Regions from separate parts of the Homo sapiens genome. Here regions 2, 3 and 4 are each linked to region 1. Evidence: promoter capture Hi-C in 16 types of primary human blood cells and fetal thymus (Javierre and others, 2016). All regions are on one chromosome and are shown on one strand. Each heading gives the region's core, a stretch centred on a gene start or on the middle of the fragment in contact. The rest is flanking DNA. Distances are from core to core; before and after follow the strand shown.

Region 1 (3,523 bases), core at 491-2,990:
GCCACAAGTTGTTTACAGGCATATCAAGATGTTGATGACCCCAGTTCTTAGGCAACTGGGTACAAACTGGAACGGGTGAAGCTAGTTCTTTCAGCCTAGTCACTTATGCCCAAGATCAGCCTTATCATTGTACAAATATATTAGTCAGAATAAGCTAACTCTTTGTATCAGTTATCTACTGCTGTGTAAGAAACCCAACCTAAAACTTAGTGGCTTACAGCAATATTCATTTTATTTGTTTATGTGTTCTGTGGGTCAACAGTTTGGACTATGTTTAGCTAGGTGGTTTTGCTAATCTTGCTTTGGGTTGCTTACAGAGTTGTGGTCATCCAGCAGCTTTTCTAAGACTAGACTTTCCATTATGGCCTTTTTCACGTCTTGCCCTTGGTGCTGGTGGATGATTGGGCCATAGTTGTCAGTGGGCTAGCCTAAGCTTCTTTACTTTGTGGAAGAAGAATTCTCAGCAGCAAAACAGGCTAAGCCTTAATGCACAAACACCTTTCAAGCCCCTGCTTATCTCGTATTTGCTGATGTCCCAATGGCCAAAGCAAGTTACATAGCCAAAGACAGAGTCCATGTGGGAAGGAAGAATACAAGGGTGTGAACAGAGGAATGTGTGATTCATCAAAGGCCATACCTTTGATGAATTCAACAATTTACCATAATGTTACAAAAAAAAATCTTCCCAAATCTCAGCAGTTTACCACAACTAAGAATTATTTCTTACCCATGTCATATTCCAATGTGGGTTGGTGAGGACACTCTATCACACTCGTTCAGGGAATCGGGAACCTGTTATCTATCTAGTGGTTCCACCGTTGTCTAAGAACTTCCAGAAGACCAGGAAAGACAGAGAAGGGAAGATTCAAGGAAGGTGTTATAGACCAATCCTGGAAGTGGTATACATCAGTTCCAGCAACATTCCAATGGCCGGAACTCAGCCATGTGGCCCCCAGCTAACTGCAGGAGAGTTGGGAAATATAATGCCTAGGAAGAAAAGATACTTCTTGTCACCAAATATTCCGCCCCCTTCTTACCACACACAGAATACACATATACCCTCCCCAGACACCTGGAATTCTATCTAGTCACTGCATCCAGGATCTGTTGTTGATACACAGTCCTCTTTATTAGATCCAGATGTATATCCTCATTGCCAGGTAACTCATGAACTATGTAAATATGTACTACATACCTGCCCCCACTCAGCTACCCTGTGTAGCGTGATAGAGCAAGGGTGGCATACTTGCATTAAAATCTCCCATTCAGAAAAGGGAAGAATGCAAGACACACAACAGTGGCTCATTCTTTAGTATATGTATTTTTTATGATATTTTTCCAAATATTGCATGGGAAATATATACACTAAAAATTATTCGTTTATCTGAAATGCAAATTATTAAGCATTCTGTATTTTTATTTGCTAAATCTGGCAACCCTCCTCCCACTAAAATATAAACTCCATGAAGGTAGGAACCTTGGCTCTCTGGTTCTCCAATGTACATCGAAGGCGTGGCATAATGCCAGGTCCACAGTAGAAGCCCATACATGCTTACTGCAGGAATTAATGAAGGACTAAACGAAGTAGCAAGTGAGTGAATAAGAAGATGAGGAGCGACCCTTGGTGGGCGGCGCGGGAAGAGAACCGCACCATAGCTCCGCAGACAGCCTCCTTTAGGCGCGCAGCGGCGGCCGCGCTGAGGTCACGGGCGCCGGCCCTGGTGACGTCATTACGCCCGCGCTCCTCGCCTGGCCGTGATATCAATGGCGCAGGCTTCACTTCTGCTGTGGCGGTGACTGAGGCCTTTCTGGTGACCTCAGCCCAACACAGGCCGTCTCCGGAGCTTCCCGGTAGTGGCCCCGGATTCCCACGGTCTTTGTCATTGGCTGTCAGCTAGCAGGCCTGGCCGCTCCCGTGCGGAGAGACCATCTCTTCAGGGCAATGTCCAGGCCGAGCAGCGTCTCCCCGCGGCAGCCGGCTCCTGGCGGTGGCGGAGGCGGCGGCCCCTCGCCTTGTGGCCCTGGGGGCGGCGGCCGGGCCAAGGGGCTGAAGGACATTCGCATTGATGAGGAGGTGAAGATCGCAGTCAATATCGCGCTGGAGCGCTTCCGATACGGGGACCAGAGAGGTGAGGTTCCGGACAGGGACCATGCTGGCAGTCAGGATACCCCCCTCACCCCAGCGCCCCCCAAACGGCGGCCCACCGAGTGATGGGGGTGCCTCCGAAGAGGGAGGGAAGACCCGGGCCACCGTCCGGGGCGGGCCTCAGCGGCGGCACCCGGGTCTGGAACGCGGCTGTTGGCCCTGCGGTGGAATGCGAGGTGCTCTGCGGATCAATGGGGTTATGGGCACTTTGCTCCCTAGCTGAAAGTGTTTTTCCCCCGCGTCTTTCAGCAGCCTTGGGCGGTTAAGCCACCGTGTTTCAGATATTGGTTAGCCCTAACCCTTTTTAAGGGGGTGTCACCTAATTGTGGCACGTTTAAGCTACAGATGTAGAAGAGCAGAAAGAAATCAAACATATAAATAAATGCACCAGCAATACGTTTGGACCCTGAAGCATCACGCTACCCACTTAAATTAAACTTGTTTGGCACACGAAGCATCTTCCACACCTCTTGAGGTTAGATAGCCACTTGTCTTGGGTCATATAATGCAGAACCAGCAACTGACCTGCGGTGACCTGTGCAGTCTGTTGAGGGCTCATTCGGACCTGCTGGCTTAGTTAGGGGACCTCTTACTCTGGAATCTTATAGTCCAAAACGGGGAATGTTCTAGACAGAGAGATTCTAAATTCACATTAAAAAAAGAGAAAGCCTCAGCAATATATAACAAATCCCTCTGAAATAGTGAAATACGAATTCTGTACAGTTTTGAAAGCAAAGACAATGGAGTTTCATGTTGAGAATTCATAATATTTGAACATATCTCATCATTGAAGAAAATAAACATTTTGTTAACTAAACAAGTAGGGACCAAGTTAAATATGTTCAGTCATTATACCAACTCAAAATTCCAGAACAAGTAAGAGGAGTCGTTTTTGGTGAATATCAGAGGCCTTTATCACATTTAGGTTTAATACATAGCTGTCTTTTTATTAATATCAGAATTCTGATAGACATTCAGTAGTTATTGAATTAATAAAATATCTTAATTTTATTAATTTACATAAATAGAATATGAAATATAAAGTTAACCTCAAATAAAGTATAATAAATTTGATTGTCTATGTATGTTTTTCATATTTTGTATCTGTGTGTTTTACTTGAGAGAAAATTGCCTATCTACAAATTTTACTACTTTGTTTTTTTTCCGTGTAGAAATGGAATTTCCTTCTTCTTTGACCAGTACTGAAAGAGCCTTTATTCATCGACTCAGTCAGTCTCTTGGTTTGGTCTCTAAAAGTAAAGGGTAAGCTGGTAGCTTTTCTTATTTTTTTTAAAAAAGATTATTTGCCCAAAAAAGGGAGAAACGTTTCTGAGTACATTTAAGTACTTATTACTGTTTTAACTTCACATTCTTAAT
Region 2 (3,587 bases), core at 345-2,844, 2.0 Mb after region 1:
TACTAATAAATACAATGATGCCTCAATCTGGAAGAAAATGAGCACCTAGGGTCTTTAGTTATAAGAAACTTAAATTTCAACTTATATGTATTTCTTTATATGTGTGTGTGTGTGTGTGTATATATATATATATATATATATATATATATATGTATATTTTTTTTTTGTGACAGAGTTTTCCCTGTTGTCACCCAGGCTAGAGTGCAATGGCACGATCACGGCTCACTGCAACCTCTGCCTCCCAGGTTCAAGCAATTATCCCTGCCTCAGCCTCCTGAGTAGCTGGGATTACAGGTGCCTGCCACCACGCCCAGTTAATTTTTGTATTTTTTAGTAGAGACGGGGTTTCGCCATGTTGGCCAGGCTGGTCTTGAACTCCTGACCTCAGGTGATCCACCCACCTTGGTCTCCCAAAATGCTGGGATAACAGGCATGAGCCACTGTGCCTGGCTTTTATATGTATTTTCATTGCAGAGAAATATAATAGAGTGATTCATAAAACACATTCAGCTAGGCATAGTGGCTCACGCCTGTAATCCCAGCATTTTGGGAGGCCCAGGCAGGAGGATTGCTTGAGCCCAGAAGTTCAAGACCAGGCTGGGCAACAGAGTGAGACCCTGTCTCTACAAAAAACTTAAAAATTAGCCAAGCATGGAAGTACATGCTTGCAGTCCCAGCTACTCCAGAGGCTGAGGTGGGAGGATCACTTGAGCCTGGGAGGTTGAGGCTTCAGTGAGCTGTGATTGCACCACTGCAGTCTAGCCTAGGTAACAGAGCGAGATACTGTCTCAAAAACAAAAACAAAAAACATATTCAAACATAAAAGTACATTAATTAGGATATATTCCTGAGGAATGGGATGTGGAATGGAATTATAAATGCGAAGAGAAAATAAATTATGTAAAAATATCCTATAGGTAAATAATAATTTGTTCATATATTTTTTTAAATGGTTCATAGTAAGCATAACTGCTATGATATTTAGATTTCGTTGGATTCATTTAAAAGCATGTTTTATTTAAAAATGTTAATTTTTACATTTTGCGGAAAATTGCAACCTTTGCGAATACTTAAACTTATGATGAAAAATTTTAGGTGACAATTGAAAAATATGTAGGAGGGTAGATAGCATCTCATGTGCATGAGTAAAAATGTTTGAAGACTTAATTGAAATGTTTGGAGACTTATTCACAACCCCCTATTGGAAGTCATTTCCATTTCTAAAGAACATTTGTTCTTCCAATCTTTGATTTTTTTTTTCTTAAATAGAAAATCAACTAAATTTCCTTTTATATAGATTTTACATTGTGTTTCTAAATGCCCACCTCTTTTCTACCTTCCATCAATGGGAGGGACAACTTTTTTGTTTGGTTTGGTTGGTTTGCTTTGGATTGGTTTGGTTATTAAGACTTTGATGTCTGGTTAAATCAGCAATTACTGTCTTCCTGAAAGCCACAGAATGCTACTGGGGCATAACAGGAAGACTCATTTTTAAGGGGTCTGTAGGGGGAGCCAAAGACTGGAAAAGGGGAAAGGGACCAGAGACAGCCTCTGAATTACCCATTCAGGTAAGTACCCAGAGATGACAGACAAAAAGGGGAACCACTTCCGGGAGCCAAGGTGAATATTCAGGCTTCCCCGACGGGGGAGCAAAGTGTTACTTGCATCCAGAGCATTTCCCTAGGCCCAAGGCTTTATAATGTAAGCCCAGAGGAGACATTACCCCTTACCTGAAAGGCTGATGGGGAGGAGGAATTGGATCAGCAAAAAGGGGACACCCTAATTATAGAACAATGAACATTTTCAGGCCTATAAGTTGTTTTCTTCTTCTCACATATTGCCTTGGGATAAATTTCCAAGAGTTGGATTACAGAATGTCTTTTTGGCTTTTCATATACATTGTTATACTATTTCCTAGAAGACTTAGACCAATCTGTCACCACCAGCAAGGCACTATTGACTTCACCAAACATTGAACCCACTTGATATTATATTTTTTGAAAATTCTTACTGGTTTTGTATGTGTTAAATGATACCGCCAAGTTTCCCAAATTTACCTGGCTACCCTTGGGATTTTTTTGGTCTGTGCAATATCCTTGAATTAGTAGAACATTCCTTCTATAGTATTCCTTCTGGGGATTGTCAAACATTTAATTCCTGCCAGTCTATATTTAAACCAGAAACCTCAGTGAAACAGTTTGCTTGCACGGTTTTGGTATACTTTGGTAACTTGTTCTAATTTGAGAAATGGCCAGGATGAATTTTTTTTAAATCTCTAGTTTTTGGTAACTAACTGGGCATAGTTCTATTTAGAAAAGTATGAAAAGAATCTACTTTCATGAATTTAAAAGTTACACAAAAATAGCATAGCAAGGTGTACGCTTCTTGTGCTATTTAGAAATGTCTTTCTCATATAAGTCCGCTTTATTAACACTGATAATTTGCTCAAGGTGAGATATTTTAATTGTCATAAATTCATTCACCACCTTAAAAATTATTGAATCCTGGAATCCCAGCACTTTGGGAGGTCTAGGCTGTCAGACTGCTTGAGCTCAGGAGTTCAAGACCAGTCTGGGCAACATAGCAAAACTCCATTTCTACAAAAAATACAAAAATTAGGCAGGCATGGTGATGCACACCTGTAGTCCCAGCTACTCAGGAGGGTGAGGTGAGAGGATGGCTTGAGTCTGGGAAGCGGAGGTTGCAGTGAGCTGAGATTGCGCCACTGCACTCCAGCCTGAGTGACAGAGCCAGACCCTGTCTAAAAACAAAACAAAACAACAACAAAAAAAACCCCAATAAAACAAAGTTATGGAATCCTATTATGTACTATGTTAGATACTGGATGAATATGACATAATCTCTACTTTTGAGGAATTGATGGTCTGTAGGAGAAATGTAGCTATAAACAGATGAAAACAAAATATGTGTATAAACAACAGTGAGAGCCCAAAGAACAGAGCTGCTAACTCTGCTTGAGCAAATCTGGGAAGGAGGTGAAGGTTAAATGGAATTTTAAAGGATTAGTAGGAGGAAGCCTAGCCAAAAGTCAGCAGGAGGGGGGTGGGAGGGGGCACCATCCAGAATGCTGGAGCTGAGAGAACACGTGAGATGTTCCCTTCTTTCTTCCTGCTTCCCCCGTGCCAGGGAGAGAGTGGTGCCCTAAGCTACCCTCTGAACGACCAAAAATCCCTACTCCCCTCACTCAAAGTGTATCCTAATATTAACACACCATTTCCTATTCCTACAGCTCAACCAGCTTTCATATTTTCTTCATGCAGCTTCTCTCTTGCAGGTTTTAGGAGGAGTGAGACCCCACTTAAGGTTATTTACTTAAAGCAAGAATACTTCCTTGGGGTACTAGCATTTTAAAAAGGAAACTTGTGAACCCAAATTAATTTTAAAATTGTAGAAATATGCACGCAAGAATTCTTTTAGCAGGGAGATTTCCAGGTTCCCTTTGGGTAGTTTGGTCTTATCTTTACTTCTCTGAATGAAGCAAGATAAGGAGGCAGCAACTCAGTCACCAAATTCTGTTAATTTTCTCTTGGCCCAGTCTCCCTCTATAGTATGGGGTTATCATTTCA
Region 3 (3,491 bases), core at 149-2,648, 2.8 Mb before region 1:
TAAAGGACTTTTTATATGATATTATCTATTTACACTTCCTTTTTTTGTATGAATTGCCTCTACATGTCCTTTGCTCATATTTCTGATTTGCCTTTATTCATTGGTATGAACTCTTTGTACATTAAAGCTACTGTTCCATTGTTTAAACCATGTTAAAATGTCATTTTTCTGTTTGTGATTTGCCTTTCAATTGTGATTACTATATATTTTAAAATTTACTATATGGACATTTAAATTTTATACAGTCAAGAGACTCAACACCTTTGCCCAAGCTGCATCGCAATCAAATTTAAGAATGTCAATTCGTTATTTAAAAATGTTAATTATACATTTTAATGTACGCTATCAAAATATCTCATGTAACCCATAAATATATACACCTACTATACACCCATAAAAAATAAAAAGTGATAAAACCACAGAAAAAAATGTCAGTTCAATCAAAACAAAGTTGATTATCACTCTCAATCAAGGTTCGCATCTGGAAGATCGAGAACTGCACGTCAGAGTTCTCTTGGAAAAGCTCTAGGAATCCTGGGCTTCCAACGAGTTGAAGGAACATAGGATGAAACCATGGAAGTCTTCCTCAGATCTGGGGAGGGAGCCTGGCCCAAGAGCCCGTGGAGCTAATGAAAACAGGTAGTAGGGGACGCTCTACAGTAGTCCTCTCAGTTATTCAATTAGAGGTCCCAATTTTGAACGATATAACTGGGATTTCAATACCCTGAGTGATTTAGACACATCAGAAAAAAATACGACAGAAAACTATAGTTTCTTTACAGCCTTAGAAAAGGAAAACGCGTAATTTCTAACTCCAGGAGGACAGTATTCGAGTACGTGGGTTTCTTTCACCCCCGACGTGCACTTCAACTTTTAAAATGCTTGCTCTGGTGGTCCACAGTACTTTCGCGTTCACTGGGCGGTACCATATCTCTCAATAGATTTGATCCAAAACCCCAAGTGCGGGAGACAAAGCTAGGTGGAACGTTATTAACCCTCCACAACTCCAACCTCTACTAGCTTCCTCGGAGCAGGCGAGGCACCAGGCCCGTGAGAAAACACTGAGATCTGGGGCGTAGCTGTGACATGGGGTATTTCTGGCCGGGATCTCACCGGGTAGGCTCCACCCGCGGGTTATCGGCTCCCTCCAAGAAGCATCTTTGAACTCCTCCCATGCAGGCCCTATTCCTACACCAGTTCTCTTTCTGGAATCTCTTTGGTACTGTGTTTCATTAATCCCACAACCATATTCCCACCTATTCCCTAACGACAACAAACTTTTAAGGTCCAGGTTACCGCCGCGTCTCCCTAGCAACCGTGCCCTTTAATGGTTGCCGGAAGAGGCTATAATCACGTGCTCCGAAGACTTCCGGGTTTCCAACGTGACTTCCGGTTGTCAGAATTTACCCCTGACGCGGCGGCGGCCGACGGGAAGCTGTGTGTGCTTAGGTCGTGGTGGCCCCGGTGGTGGTGGGCTCCGGGCGGGCTCGCGTCATCCTGCCCCCGCTGCGATGCATCCGCGGCGCCCGGACGGATTTGATGGCTTGGGCTACCGGGGTGGTGCCCGGGACGAGCAGGGCTTTGGCGGCGCCTTCCCTGCAAGGTCCTTCAGCACCGGGTCGGACCTGGGCCACTGGGTGACGACTCCCCCAGATATCCCCGGCAGCCGCAACCTGCACTGGGGCGAGAAGAGCCCGCCCTACGGCGTGCCCACCACCTCCACCCCGTACGAAGGCCCCACGGAGGAACCCTTTTCCAGTGGCGGCGGCGGCAGTGTGCAGGGGCAGAGCAGTGGTGAGAAGCATGGGGACCGACACAGGGATGAGGGGTTACTGGGGCCGCGGCTTGCGGCCTGCAGACCCCGGAAGCGGCGCAGAGGATCCCGCCTCCTATTCCTTCTCATCCTATCGCGCGCCACACCCTTTGCCCTCCTTTGGTCCTCTGCCCCTGAGGCTGGCCTCCTCTTCCTCACAAACGAATTCTCCTGGATCAACTCCAAAAAAGACATCTGCCTTAGCTATGGGGTGCATAGCAGGAATTTTTAGAGGTTTTGGTGTCTCAACTGATGGTCTGAGTTAAAAAGGAGATTGGATTATTAACTGTTCCCTGATTCACTTTGGCAGCTCTATTTTCTTGATTTAATTAATTAATTAATGTGTTTACTTGTAGTTTTGTGTTCTGAAAAGAGAAGCCTTTCAGCATAAGCATACTTGGGTTCAAACTTGGTTGTGCCACTCGTAATCTGAACAACTTAACCTCTGTGAGCCCTCAGTTTTCTCATCTTTAAGATGTGTAGAAGAATCCTGTATGGGACACATAGGCTAAAAAAAAAAAGTTTCCTTCCTTTTCCTTTTTGAACACAGGAGTTTTGTCTGCTTTTCAGATCCCCAGTCTAGAAAGTTTCCTTCCTATAATTTTCCTTTCTGCTTTCCTTCTGCTGACCTAAAAACTACATATAAAAGTTAGAAACACTGATACAATTTCAAGATAGGACTTCGGAATCATGACATAATTATTCTCCATGGGATGTCAGAAAAGCTGCAACACTGCATGATGTAGATATTTTCAACATCCTTTTTTATTCATAAAATGTGAATAATGGCTACCTCTTTCTATTCTTCTGGAATTGTTAGAATAATAGATTAATGGTATTAATATTAAATTTATTGTAGAAATCAGCTTTATTCTTATTTCCTCGACTTTGACTTGGAAGTACAATAATATTTAACTAAGAAGAACAGACTAACGAATGTCTAGTGAGTAAATGAGGATGTGAAGAAAGATAGATGACTTACCTAGCTAATTGTCATACAATTAGCTTTTTGACTCTTCCCGGTTTAAAGTTATGCTTTGGTGGTTACAATGAGGAGGAGTTCCTTGACACAAGCAGGGGTTTATTTTGCAGCCTTAACAGGTGGGTGAATGTTAATTTTGCAACAAAGATAGACACCTAAGAGACTTACACAGTAAACAAGATTAAACCTTCCTAACACCTTCCAGAAAATGCTAGTAGCATTTTCTGTTGCTATTTGGGGATGATCTATACATACAAAATGGGTAAGGCCGGGCGTGGTGGCTCACGCCTGTAATCCTAGCACTTTGGGAGGCCAAGGCGGGCGGATCACGAGGTCAGGAGATCGAGACCATCCTGGCTAACACGATGAAACCCCGTCTCCACTAAAAAATAGAAAAAATTAGCCGGGCGTGGTGGCGGATGCCTGTAGTCCCAGCTACTCGGGAGGCTGAGGCAGGAGAATGGCGTGAACCCGGGAGGCGGAGCTTGCAGTGAGCCGAGATCGCGTCACTGCACTCCAGCCTGGGCGACAGAGCGAGACTCCGTCTCAAAACAAACAAAAAAAGGTAAAATCTAAGGTAAAAGTACCGTAGGTGGGTAAAAGAAGCTTTCTATTTAGCTTATACATTTTTCTAGGGTAAACTGCGTAATTTCCCAGGAACATGCTTAGGTGGCCTTGTTCTGATTGAAAGGGAAT
Region 4 (3,641 bases), core at 1,002-3,501, 2.0 Mb before region 1:
CACTATCTTAGTCCAATCTTATCTATTTACCATTACTGATGCATTCAGACTCTAACACTAGGAACACTATTTCATTCTGACATTGTTCATAACTTTTAAAAAATTAAACAATTCACATTTATTACGACAGTGTTAACATGAATTTGTCCCTACATTTTTTCCTCATCATTTCCCAAGTAATTCTGAATATCAGAATAGCTAGAGCACTTAACTAGAAGTGTCCTGGGTTCTAGAATTAGTTCTAGCAACACTCAAGTCACCTATGTAATAGTTTGGGCAAGTCACATTAGTAAAAAGGAATACTAACTAGCTACCTTCATAGGCTTTTTGATATACCTGAAACTATTCCAAACTCTCAAGTACTACACTTTCTTAAATTAATAATGATACATTTTATTTGCTGACTTAAGAGGCCATTCTTTAGGTTCTAGTTGCCATGAGCCTATTCTCTTGTCTAATATCCAAAGAGCTAATGAAAGCAGTATAGGATTACCACTGATGCATTTCTTCCTCTGTGTGACATTAGACTATCAACTTTATTAGCTCAATTATTTTTCTTGCATATCCATCCAAAGTATGGTCTTTGTCCATATTGTTCCATTTAATTTTAAAAGTCATCAACCAATTCATTAGATAGAAGATATACCCCAAATATAAGTAATTGAACTAATTTACCGTTTTCTTAGCAACTCGCCACTTATCTTCTTCAATGCTATGGTACTGGATGAGAGTGTTTTTAAGTTTAGTTGCAAAAGAAGCAACATCAGACAGGCCTTCCATTACTTCTCTCTGTTATGGAGACCAAGATTAGCATCAGCAAATACCACAGTTTGAGGCAATAGGCCAGTGGGTCTCGAATCTGGTTTCACAATATAATAACCTACCAGAGCTATAAAAGATAGCTACCCTCACCCCAAATCAACTAATCATAATCTCTGAGAGTAGGACCCGGGCATAGTTTTTTTCTAATTGCTCCCAAGATGAATAACCCATAGCCAGAGGTGAGAATTACATATTTTTTACAATTAAAATCACTCATACAGAAAGTAGAAGAGAAGACAGGAGGAAGGGGAAGCAATTGTATCTCATATATAGATATGCTGTTAACTCTCAAACATTTACCTCCAGTCCTCTTTGTTTCAATGAGCTCAAAAATCCCAGATCCAGAAGCCTACTTAAAGCTTCAAGCCTAAAGGGAATCTCTTGCCTCCCCTGGCTTCCCTCAATTTGTCACAGTATTCCTCATTTTAACAATTTACTATTAAAATGGCAATTGAGCCCAAGTTCTCAAGTCAAAAGGCTTGGAATTGCCCTTAATAAGAATAGGTTCCTTTTAACACCATCATACCTCATTGTCTACAGTATTCTACACTGGTTTTCTTTCTGTCCCTCAAACAGGCTAGCTTATCGCTGACTTGTGGTCTTTGATACGGCTAGATCCCAAATCTTAGCATCACTAATAACAATGTAATGCCAATTTCAGTTTAAACCTCCTATCCTTCATAAAGCCTTCTTAAGTTACTATTACATCGTTATTTTCTTCATAGTGCTTATCATTATCTGACAATATAATAACTTATTTATAGGTGTATGATTCTACTCTTTGACCACCTCATTCCTAACTAATAGCATAGAGGTCCTTTTCTTATTCACCACTATAACTCCACCACCTAGAACACTGCCTGGCACATAGTAGGCCCTTATTTTGTTGATATGTTATTGTCTCAAAACAAGAATTACTTGGTCTTTGTCTTCTTTTGGTGCCAGGGCACCAATTTCTTAGCATAATTCCTACTTTTCACTATTCTATCTCTATTCCTCCCATCTTCAGTAAAAGGCTAAAGAAGAAAAGAGTTTTAGGGGTAAAGTTGCCCATTACAGAACCATCAAATTGCTGGAAAGGAGGTCAAGAAAACATCTAAATGAAATCTCCTAATCTAAATGAAATCACCCTCTATGGGAATAAGGCTGCAGTTGTCAACTATGGATGCACACATCAGAATCACCTTTTTATGCTTTGTACTAGTTGTCGCTGCTTTTAGGTGTTAGATTTTAGGGCCCAGTGCCAAATAGTCTAATTCAGTGGCTTTGTTCTGGAATGGGCCTCAGAAATGTAGGTCCTTTAAAATAGTCTCACTAATTATTCTGTTGTCTAGCCAGAGATCAGAACTAACTGATCTAAAAATTAAAGTGACAGAAATAAATTAAGGTTGTAGCCAATATTTAAATACCACTAATTAGAGCATATAAGCCATTAAAATTTATAAATACTAAAATTATGTAGAAACATGGGAAAGTATACAAAGAAAATTCAATATAACTTTTAGGATCTATGTAAGTGATGCAAAATATATAATAAGTATAGATCCAATCCACGGATGAAAAGTTGATGAGCTCATTCAAAAAGTCTCTCAGTCAAGAATATACCTAATTTCCATTCAAGAGGCTGTCAACTTGATAGCCAGTTCAATAACTTTATTCAAGAGTATGCCACAAACAAGCAGAAGTTCTTGCAGAAGGCTTGTAAAAGAGATTTAATTTATCTATTACAGGGATCACTATGATTAAACATATTCTTTAAACCCAAAGGTCACCTGCTAGGTTCCTGTGGTTGGCAGATAAGAGTATTTATGCAAAACTTTTTGATAGAAATCAAAGGTGAAACAGAAAGTTATTATTATCATAAGCAAACATTATCACTGGGCAAATCCAGTGCACGGAAAGTTACCTAGAAAGCTAGCTACCTAGAAGAGATGAGAATCTGCAACTTTAAGGTACTTGACTTAGTAATTCATACTGATCAGTATAAAGTTCAAGCTCCTTACTATAGCTTACAGGCCCTTTTATAATGTGGCATATTTTCATTACCTAATTTCCACTTATCTTTCCTGGATTCCCCTGAACCTGGGTTAGTTCCCCCTCCAATATTTTCTGACAGCAACTCTGTACTGTAATTATTCACTTGTTATCTTCTCCCGTTTAACTGTAAAATCTTTGGGGGGTAGGAAATCTGGCTTGTTCAATATTAATTCTCCTTACGTCTAGCACTCAGTAGGAACACAGTGAATAAAAAATGGAAAAATGTATAGACAATAAGCTACCATTCTCACTTATGGAAGACCTCAAGATATCTAAAGTATGCCCATTTACGCCAATCCTAGAGCTTCTGAATAACTAAAACTTCCTTTACCATAATGAAACACCATTTCTCAAGAAGGACTACTATTAAATATTTATCAAGCATCTATTATATACCAGGTCCTAGAACTACAGAAACAGATGGAATTCAGATTTTACTCTCAAATTGACTTATTCCACCCTTAAGCTTTAACAGAAATAACAACAACAAAAACTAAAACATTAAAAAATTCTATTAATAGCCTTTTTAAGAGTGGTGCAGTGGGAGGTAGGAAAGGAAGAGAAAGAAGTACAAAATCAGAAAGCTCTCTCTGATTAAATATGTCCAGCAATGTATTTAACCAAACAGTTAAGTCTTGCATGGATTATTTTCATCAAGATTAAGTCCATAATGAAATAATCATTGCCATCAAAACTGCTACCTCTGTGTAAACAGGCATAATTGAGCATTTCTCAAAATATTAATATATTCTAGAACCAAGAGGGTTGGGGGAGATGGGTTA

The links. The method cuts DNA at HindIII sites, captures the fragments that hold promoters and counts their contacts. A CHiCAGO score of 5 or more calls a contact.
Region 2: a contact is called between a fragment that was not itself captured here and the fragment with the promoter of YTHDC2 in region 1, in 4 of 17 cell types (naive CD4 T cells, naive CD8 T cells, fetal thymus and 1 more). The highest score is 8.1, in naive CD4 T cells.
Region 3: a contact is called between the fragment with the promoter of SLC25A46 here and the fragment with the promoter of YTHDC2 in region 1, in 3 of 17 cell types (total B cells, naive CD8 T cells and naive B cells). The highest score is 5.7, in total B cells.
Region 4: a fragment that was not itself captured here is called in contact with the fragment with the promoter of YTHDC2 in region 1 in 1 of 17 cell types (total B cells); the score reaches 5.0 in total B cells.

The regions. Positions count from the first base shown.
Region 1 is chr5:113,511,954-113,515,476 of GRCh38, forward strand. YTHDC2 (YTH N6-methyladenosine RNA binding protein C2) reads left to right here and starts at 1,741. Exons shown (of 30, transcript NM_022828.5): 1 at 1,741-2,129; 2 at 3,319-3,409. The coding sequence starts at 1,943. It overlaps LOC124901046 (a long non-coding RNA gene), which reads right to left and starts at 1,705. Exons shown (of 2, transcript XR_007058905.1): 1 at 1,478-1,705; 2 at 1-987. RefSeq lists enhancers at 1,497-1,546, 1,543-2,044 and a silencer at 1,997-2,226. The HindIII fragment of the contact is 3,291 bases long and covers 432-3,523 here.
Region 2 is chr5:115,547,820-115,551,406 of GRCh38, forward strand. No RefSeq gene overlaps it. Among named protein-coding and RNA genes, the nearest start is that of FEM1C, 4.8 kb to the left of the region's middle. The HindIII fragment of the contact is 7,329 bases long and covers 1-3,587 here.
Region 3 is chr5:110,737,609-110,741,099 of GRCh38, forward strand. It overlaps SLC25A46 (solute carrier family 25 member 46), which reads left to right and starts at 1,399. Exons shown (of 8, transcript NM_138773.4): 1 at 1,399-1,794. The coding sequence starts at 1,512. It also overlaps a transcript of TMEM232 not described here. RefSeq lists enhancers at 982-1,031, 1,282-1,411, 1,422-1,491, 2,736-3,237, 3,238-3,491. The HindIII fragment of the contact is 3,989 bases long and covers 1-3,399 here.
Region 4 is chr5:111,506,654-111,510,294 of GRCh38, forward strand. It overlaps STARD4 (StAR related lipid transfer domain containing 4), which reads right to left. Exons shown (of 6, transcript NM_139164.3): 2 at 676-789. The coding sequence starts at 780. Among named protein-coding and RNA genes, the nearest start is that of STARD4-AS1, 3.8 kb to the right of the region's middle. RefSeq lists an enhancer at 2,531-2,650. The HindIII fragment of the contact is 2,144 bases long and covers 1,180-3,323 here.